Regions from separate parts of the Homo sapiens genome. Here regions 1 and 2 are each linked to region 3. Evidence: promoter capture Hi-C in 16 types of primary human blood cells and fetal thymus (Javierre and others, 2016). All regions are on one chromosome and are shown on one strand. Each heading gives the region's core, a stretch centred on a gene start or on the middle of the fragment in contact. The rest is flanking DNA. Distances are from core to core; before and after follow the strand shown. Region 1 has its middle 51 kb from the start of EMC2. Region 2 has its middle 270 kb from the start of RSPO2. Region 3 holds the start of RSPO2 (R-spondin 2).

Region 1 (3,095 bases), core at 453-2,952, 410 kb after region 3:
GAAAGGTCTAGTTAGTGGTTCTCAAAGTCTGGTCACTTGGAAGCTTATTAGAAATGAAAACTGTTGAGTGCCACCCCATATCTACTGAATGAGAAACTTGAGTGGGGTTCACTTTGTGTTTTAATAAGCCTGTCTGGTGTTTCTGAGGCCTGCTAAAATTTGAGAACCATTGGTTTCAAATAGACTGTATTTTGAAAACAATGATTGAAAGAAGCAAATGATTTCATGGAGATCTGCATGTTACTTTGTTTCTTACATTGTGATTGTGTGTGGCATTTTTTAAGTTATCCCCTCTTCTGATTTATATGTTTTCCCCCATCTCCTATTCTATTTTTTTGGTGGGGAGCAACAATATTCTCCCTAGATGCTATAGTAAAGAACTGAATTACCCATGTTTGTTTTGTATATTGAATATCTTTCTCTTAATAATTTTAAAATTAGTACAGAGAATTATACTATTATTTTCTTTCTCAGAAGCCAAGGTGAATTCACTTGATTTATATTGACTGCTTTCAACAGCTTTTTAAAAAAACTTATAATTCTTAAGGGAGTGAATATGGGCCAGTGGTTTGTTTGCTTGTTTTGTTTTGTTGTTGTTGTTGAGACTGAGTCTAGCTTTGTCACCCAGGTTGGAGTGTAAGTGGTGTGATCTCACCTCACTGCAACCTCCGCCTCCCAGGTTCAAGCGATTCTCCTGCCTCAGCCTCCTAAGTAGCTGGGATTACAGGCACCCGTCACCACACCCAGCTAATTTTTGTATTTTTAGTAGAGATGGGGTTTCACCATGTCGGTCAGGCTGGTTTTGAACACCTGACCTCACATGATCCACCTGCCTCGGCCTCCCAAAGTGCTGGGATTACAGGTGTGAGGCACTGCACCCTGCTGGGCCTGTGGTCTTTAGAAAAAGAATTATTTCTTTATACACATATGTTCATATATGCATCTCTCTATGTATATATGCATATTTGTATTTATTTAAGAACCCAATTGTAATAACCACAGTGGATACAGAAAGTATGAACTTTGTATTATAGTGAGCATAGTAGAAGACAAGAATAATGTAAATACTTTTATTTACTTATTTTTTAAATTATACTTTAAGTACTAGGGTACATGTGCACAACGTGCAGGTTTGTTACATATGTATACATGTGCCATGTTGGTGTGCAGCACCCATTAACTCATCATTTACATTAGGTATTTCTCTTAATGCTATCCCTCCCTGCTCCCCCACACCCCATGACAGGCCCTAGTGTGTGATGTTCCCCGCCCTGTGTCCAAGTGTTTTCATTGTTCAGTTCCCACCTATGAGTGAGAACTTGTGGTGTTTGGTTTTCTGTCCTTGCAATAGTTTGCTCAGAATAATGGTTTCCAGCTTCATCCATGTCCCAACAAAGGACATGAACTCATCTTTTTTTATGGCTGCATAGTATTCCATGGTGTATATGTGCTACATTTTCTTCAGTCTATCACTGATGGACATTTGGGTTGGTTCCAAGTCTTTGCTATTGTGAATAGTGCCACAATAAACATACGTGTACATGTGTCTTAATGTAAAGACTTTTATACAAATTGTTTTTTAATATAAAAAACTGATTAATAATTAGATTTGGATGCCAATAAAAGTTAAATTAGAAGCATATTTCTATAAACCACTTGCAGCCACAAATAAATAGGTGAATTCCAATAGGGTCATTACATCTCTACTACTCCATATAATAATATGTAAACATCACAAGTAATACGATTTGTATTCAAATCATTAGAACCCTGAAGAATGTTTTCAGCTCAACAAACTGCTGCCACCAGCAATAAACTTGGAGACATTAATCTTGCAAATAAGTCACTACTGGGGAAACATCTACCTGCAATAGACCAAGTAATGGTGAGTATTTCCAAACAGAATGGATTCATAACTGAAGAAATCTGAGCTCGTGCATAACTAATTTGAGAGATATAATTAGGCAACTTAAATATTACATGAAAACATGGGTAAGAATTATGTGAAAATGTATGCATATCATCTTTTGAAAACCCTAGGTAAAAATGTGTACTATCAACATCATATCTGTTTGAAATGAAATTGGAGGTCTCCAGAGTGGTAACAATAGCCAGTGATTTCAAGAGTTGTACTCAAATGACAGCTGATTTTGGATTTAGTTTCACTATACTGATCTATCTGTCATACATAGTATGCCAGAGAACATAGGAGACAACACAGCCCCATTGGCTGGCAGTTTTCTAATAGCCCACCTACTCTGACCAAAACCAAACTGCACAGATAAATATGTCTCTAGTTCTTATGAGAGGAATAAAAATTGGTTAGTTCCAAATAGAGGCATTGGGAAAGACTGTATAAGAATGTCTTACTAAAACAAACTTCAAATAGCACCACTGATACGATGATTTAAGAAGAGTAATAGCAGTTGGGACATAGACATGGTACCAAACAAATGGTTGCCTCTTAAGTGGTACCCAGGAGTCAGAGCTGTACTTAGAAACAGGCCCTGTGGTATCAGCTGGCTCCGGGGAGAGTAATCTGATGGTCACCTGGCAGATTTAACGTTGCTATCTTTTTATGTATGCAGAATTGTTCTCAAATATTAAGGGCAATGAAATACATATATTTGGAAAGGACTTCAATGCCTACACAAACACAGTCTTTCAAATACTAGAAAGAGAAGGAATTTCTGAAAATACAAATGTTAAAGATGTAAAAATAGTTTAAAACAATATTCTTTTTATTTGGGGTGTATACTGCTAAATATTTCATTGTTTTACTTTATTATTCTCTAAATAATAAAGATTTCCCCACAAGGAAATATTTACTAGTCTAAAAAGACTCATAATGAGGTATTTTGTGGCTTAAATTATGGCCTAATTTTGTTTAATGGCTTTGAATTTGTACTTAATTTTTTCTTTTTATCTTTTTTTTTTTCTTTTTTTTTGAGTCTTGCTCTGTCGCCCAAGCTGGAGTACAGTGGCACGATCTGGGCTCACTGCAACCTCCGCCTCCCAGGTTCAGGTGATTCTCCCACCTCAGCCTCCCAAGTAGTAGCTGGGGTTACAGGCATGCACTACCACACCTGGCTAAT
Region 2 (2,973 bases), core at 309-2,808, 270 kb before region 3:
GTGGGTCACTTGAGGTCAGGACTTCGAGACCAACCTGGGCAACATTGTGAAACCCCCATCTCTACTAAAAATACAAAAAGTAGCCGGGCCTGGTGGTGGCTGCCTGTAATCCCAGCTACTTGGGAGGCTGATGCAGGAACATCACTTGAACTGGGAGGCGGAGGTTGCAGTGAGCCGAGATGGCACCACCCCACTCCAGCCTTGGCAACAGAGCGAGACCCTGTTTCAAAAAAAAAAAAAAAAGAAAGAAAAGAAAAAAAGAAAAGAAAGGAAGGAAACAGATTCCACAGTGCTCAGTGACTTGCCACAAATTAAGTTAGCTGGGAAATGGTGGAACAAAAGTTCTAATCTGCCTTTCAGTTGCTCATTTAGTTTCAAACTCTCATCTCCTGCCCCTGCCCTGCTCCCATCTCCTGCAAAGTCTGTAATGGAGCTTCTTTATTGTTGTAAACCAGGTGGCTCTTTTTCCCATTTGAGTCCTTGATCCAAATCAAAGGACTGGTACTGAGAACACATTTTGAGGATTTAAACATAGATTTCCTCCCTCCCTCATACACTGTGCTGCCATGGGCAATTCCCATTGGCACAGCCAGGACCTACAGTGTTGGAATAAACAGGGGGCATGACTGTGGACTCTAGTCTTTCTTGAAACTTTTTCCTCTCTTGTTTAGAATGAAATGTCTTTGACCATCAAACGCTAATCACTCTTCAGGCTACAGTGCTTATTGTAGAGGCTTCCCAAGGAGAATCTCATAGATACATGATAGTAAGCCAAGAATTTACATTACAAAAGGTTGTTTAGGCAGGATTAGAAATTAATGGCAAAACATAGGCAAAACTATCATCATAACAACTCCTATTTATTGTTTACTGTGTGCAAGACACTGTACTAAGACTAAGCTATGCGTAAATTATTTAATCCTCCCAAGTTTTTTATGAGGCAAGTACAATTTTTTTGTTATTTGACAGATAAAGGAAATGAAGCTTAAAGGGGTTAAATCACTTTAAAAAAGGCAACACAACTAGTAAGTATCAGAACTAGAATATAGGCCAGGTGTGGTGGCTCATGCCTGTAATTCCACCACTTTGGGAGGCCAAGGTAGGAGGATCTCTTGAGCCCAGGAGCTCAAGACCAGCCTGGGCAACAAAACAAGACCTCATTTTTTTTTTAAGTAAAAATAAAAGAACTGGAATATAAATCTGTCTATTCCCTCCAAGGCACGCTCTTAACTACTAAACTAAATCCTGTGCATTCACCATTTTCTCCAAAGGTAGTCTGGAAGTAGACTGTGTTCTTCTCAGATTATCGCTTAAACCGTTCAACACAAGGGCTTCCCCCTCATTTGTTTGACCATCAGCATATACTGACTGCTAAGTGTGAATTGTCATTCACTTGTTCCTGGCAGTACAAATGTTGCACTAAGCAGTCCTAAAGAGACTTGATGCTGAGTAGAACAAAGAATAAAAGTTTCCTGAATATTTTGTTTAAATTGTAAGCTAACTCAATAATGACCAGACGTGTCTCACATGAGGCAACAGGAAGTTGAACCATAGATTGTTTTTAATGATGCAAAAATGTCAAGTAATATCTCCTTCACTGAGGAATACAAAGGAAGAAAGAAAAGCTAGATAAATTATAGGGAAAATGATCTACACCATTTGACATAATTAAATAAGAGTTAGGTTGGTTTTAGCACATAATAATAAAATAAACCTACCGGAATGACTAGATTGGAAAAACCTATTGGATTTCAGTTTATATAAACTCTATATGGAAGAGAAATACCAAGGAAAGTGATGTTTAAATGTTAAGAAAAATAATGAGTGAAAATTTATAATTCTTTTTATTTTACTCTCTTAAACTTGCCTAGCTCTGTCATAATCTGAAATTTCAACCCCAAAGCTAAGCCACCATGTATTCTCTTTGGAGTAAGACAGCATATAAAGAAAACAAACAGAATCTCTTACATTTTACAAAGTTGAATGTCTCAGGTTTTCAACAAAGTATATAGAAATCTATGTTTGGGTTTAAGTTTTTGCCTTATACTATGACCAGCCACTAGATGGCAAAGTATGACATGAAATGTAGGCTGCAGACCAAGTTAAGAGTCTGACTTGGAATGGAAGCAGAGGAAGCTTGAGTTAGTGAAAACCTTTAGTTGTACTACATGAATAAAGGGATGTAGTGTAGTGTAGTCGTTCTTAAGTTGCATGCGTTACTTTTAAAAAACATTTACTGATTCACTCAAATTCACGTCTAGAAGTCCTAAGACTAAGACTCAGTTGACTACAAGGCTTTGTTCCCTAGCCCACTTCTTATTGCCTGTCACTTCCTGTCCCTGCCTGTCTTCCTTCCAAGAACCCAGTTCTAGCCACTGCTTCACAATATCTCTCAATGTCAACCACCAGTGTTCTAATTATTATTATCTCTTGCCACTTTCTCCATCATTCTTCACTTCCTTTCAGGATCCTTCATTACTACATCCTTGTGTAGCCACTGATGCATATTTGCCTGAACTGAGCCTTGTTGTGGTTGTTGCTGTTTGGAAGCAGAGCAATTTGCTGGCTGATATGATAAGGCCTTGTGTCCCCACCCAAATCTCATCTTGAATTTTAATCTCCACATGTAAGGGAGGGACCTGTAATCCCTACGTGTAAGGGAGGGAGGTGATTGGACCATGGGGGTGGTTTCCTCCATGCTGTTCTCATGATAGTGAGTGAGTTCTCACAAGATCTGATGGTTTTGTAAGTGTTTGGAATTTCCTCCTTTGCTCTTCTTTTTCCTGCCGCCTTGTGAAGAAGGTGCCTGCTTCCCTTCTGCCATGACTGTGAGTTTCCTGAGGCCTCCCAAGCCATGCAGAATTGTGTGTCGATTAAAACTCTTTTCTTTATAAATTACCCAGTCTCAGGCAGTTCTTTATAGCAGTGTGAAAATGAACTAAATACACTGGCCTAATGAACTCATTTCTCAGC
Region 3 (2,729 bases), core at 81-2,580:
CCCTGAGCGCCCGATTGGCGCCCGGCTCGCCGAGCTCCCAGCGCGTCTCGCTCCGGCTCCCCGCGCCTCCAGGGTACAGAAAACAGAGTGTTTTGTAGAGCTCCAGGGTCCTAAAGGTGGGGACTGGGGACCCGCAAAAGCTGGGGTGGAGAGCACAGCCCTGACCATCTGAGCCCCCGGAGCCAGGGCGTGAGTGAGCGCCTCCACACGCCACCCCTGAAGCCCACCACGCACCTTTGGCAGAGAGGGACCCACCTCGCTTACTGCGTCTCCATCGGTTGCCTTGGCAGTGGCTGTAATCCATGCAGTTCAGAATGATGAGGGCAAAGGAGAAAAGGCGAAACTGCATCTGGGCGGTCGGGCGGGGGAGAGACGCCTCTCAAAGTCTAGGAACTGGAGGGTTCGCCCAAAGAGCCGGCGCCGGCCGCGCTGCTGGGGAGGACTCAGAGGGAGACTCGCCACTCACCCCCGGGCCGCACCGGTCAGTTCAGCGCGATCAGCATCTCTCCGCCACGAACCTGAGAGACAAGAAGCGAAAACAGGGTGTGTGGGGGATGGAGAGAGCCCCGGGGAGGCAGCTGCGCCTTCGCACGTCCCAATTTAAAGAAGAGAGGGAAGGAGGAAGCGAACCCACTGCCTAGCACGAGCCGCGGAGCGGCTTAATCCAGAGCGGGCAGCTGCGGACGAGTTGGAGAGGAAGGTGATTATAATCAGTGAATTAGCAACCTCTGCCGAGCCCTAAGCTCCGACCCAGCGGCATAATGCGTTGTGCCGGCGCTCCGGGGAAAGGAAAGAACTCTAAAGGCACTGAGAGCGCAGGGCTAAAAGAACGCTCTTAGGCCATTTGGAGTCCACGGCGGTGTACCCAAGCGCCGCAGCTGCGGCTGCCTTGGTGTGGGTTGCCTACCGTGCGCACGTCTCGGGCGGCGCGGCCTCCCTAGGCGCGGTGCTCCATCCCGGGCTCGGGAAGCGAGCCGCTTGGTTAGCACGTGGGCTGGGGAAAAGTTTGCCGAGACCGGCTGGGAGCGCCTGGCAGCTCTGGAATTCCAGCGGCCGCCGCGGGGTTGGCGACGCCAGGCAGGAGCGCGGAGCGGCGGGTGCAGCCACTGGGATGCTCCGTCCCCGCCCGCGAGCGCGGTCCCCAGGCAAGGGGTGCGCCCGCTCACACTCTCTGCCTCCCTAACCAATTGTGTCGCTTCCTGCGCTTTCTCCACGGTCACTTCACAGCTAAGATTTCTTTCTTTCCGAGCTGTAGAAGGCAGAACGCTCTCGGGAGGACGAAGTGATCCGAAGGGATGTGGCAAGCGCACTTTCCGATGGAGATGCAGACCGGCTGAGGCTTGGGATGCTTCTATAAGTAGGTGGTGCTGTGGTCCAAGGCATCTAAGTCTAGGCTGCCTCGGAGTTCCTGGGTCCTAAAGCCAGAAACGTCCCGGTTTCCCTGAGGTCCTAAAGAACGTTGACAGCCAACAGCGCGCCTAACTTGGAGCGAATCCTCTTCGGGCTTTCCAGAGTGCGGGGGATAGATAAAGAGTAGCTGGGGAGACGCCCCCTGACCTTGCTGGGTCCCAGAACCCGGCTGCTCACCCCCAAGGGGTCCTCTCCAGCCCTCTAGGGTCAGTTCCAACCTCAGCGCCAACCTTTCTGCAGGGAGATCTGACTGAAGGACTGATGACTCCCTTTAAACTTTTGCAATATGCCACAACTCTGCCACTTTTTAATTTACATCTTGTCTGTGTTTTGCAGGAAGGTATGTTAGCCGGCTGAAATTATTCATAAAACGCGCCCCCACTTTGAGGAGTGAAATGGGTATTCCCAACAGCTTTTGTTCATCCTCAGAACTGTTATTTACTTTGTTTCTTCTCCAATAAAACAAAAACCTGTGATCCGTTGCCTGAAGTGCTGAAGAAGTTGGGGCCTTGATTCTTTAAAAATAATTTTAAAAAGTTCACTTCCCACTAAAGTATTTTTCATTCTTAATCCTCCTCTCATTTCCAAAGTCTCCTGAATTAAACTTTTAGGTGCTTTGGGTTTGGGGAAAATATTCTGTTTAACAAAGTGTTACATTAAATAGACTTGATGCCATCCAATTTCATTCTGGTGAAATCTGTCCTGCATTCACTACTGTAGGAAAAAATGTATTTATTCCTTAAGCAAAAGATAAGAATTTATGCCACTAACCGTGGCAGTATGAATGTCTATAGATATGCCCGCAGTTACCATATTATTATGATAGCATTTTATACTATTTAAATTCCCTTTTCTATTCCTTCAGTTTCAGAAGATGTTCAGAAATTTGATGACTTAAAAGACAATCATATAAAAAGAATATTGCAATACTCATATTTATTAACTATTCCATTATTGCCTATTCATAACTATTTTACAGACTCACTATTACATAGTGGTATTTATGTGCTAAGAATTTCAGCAGTATGCCTTTGATGCATGCCTGAGAACACCCAAGTAAATCTGAGTTGAGGTCATTGGTCCCATTTCATAGATAAGAAAATCCATCACTGAGACTGGCCCACAGGGCACAAATAGAGTTCACAAAACACATTGCAGAAACAGTGGATCTGTTTCTTGACTTTTGAGCCTTTGATTTTTATCACAGAATTTGGAAACATTTCAGTGTAGGGAGTGGCCCCAGTGTTTGGCATAACTTGATATTTCTTGATCATCTTGATATGATGCTGAATATCTCTTCAGCACCATAAATACTACTT

What was found. Contacts are between HindIII fragments. The CHiCAGO score rates a contact against its expected background, and 5 or more counts as called.
Region 1: a contact is called between a fragment that was not itself captured here and the fragment with the promoter of RSPO2 in region 3, in 3 of 17 cell types (M0 macrophages, megakaryocytes and M2 macrophages). The highest score is 6.6, in M0 macrophages.
Region 2: a contact is called between a fragment that was not itself captured here and the fragment with the promoter of RSPO2 in region 3, in 3 of 17 cell types (megakaryocytes, M1 macrophages and M2 macrophages). The highest score is 9.0, in megakaryocytes.

What each region holds. Positions count from the first base shown.
Region 1 is chr8:108,493,363-108,496,457 of GRCh38, forward strand. No RefSeq gene overlaps it. Among named protein-coding and RNA genes, the nearest start is that of EMC2, 51 kb to the left of the region's middle. The HindIII fragment of the contact is 3,322 bases long and covers 42-3,095 here.
Region 2 is chr8:107,811,532-107,814,504 of GRCh38, forward strand. No RefSeq gene overlaps it. Among named protein-coding and RNA genes, the nearest start is that of RSPO2, 270 kb to the right of the region's middle. The HindIII fragment of the contact is 1,152 bases long and covers 983-2,134 here.
Region 3 is chr8:108,082,290-108,085,018 of GRCh38, forward strand. It overlaps RSPO2 (R-spondin 2), which reads right to left and starts at 1,331. Exons shown (of 6, transcript NM_178565.5): 1 at 908-1,331; 2 at 256-518. The coding sequence starts at 349. RefSeq lists an enhancer at 1-470 and a silencer at 187-362. The HindIII fragment of the contact is 4,613 bases long and covers 1-2,729 here.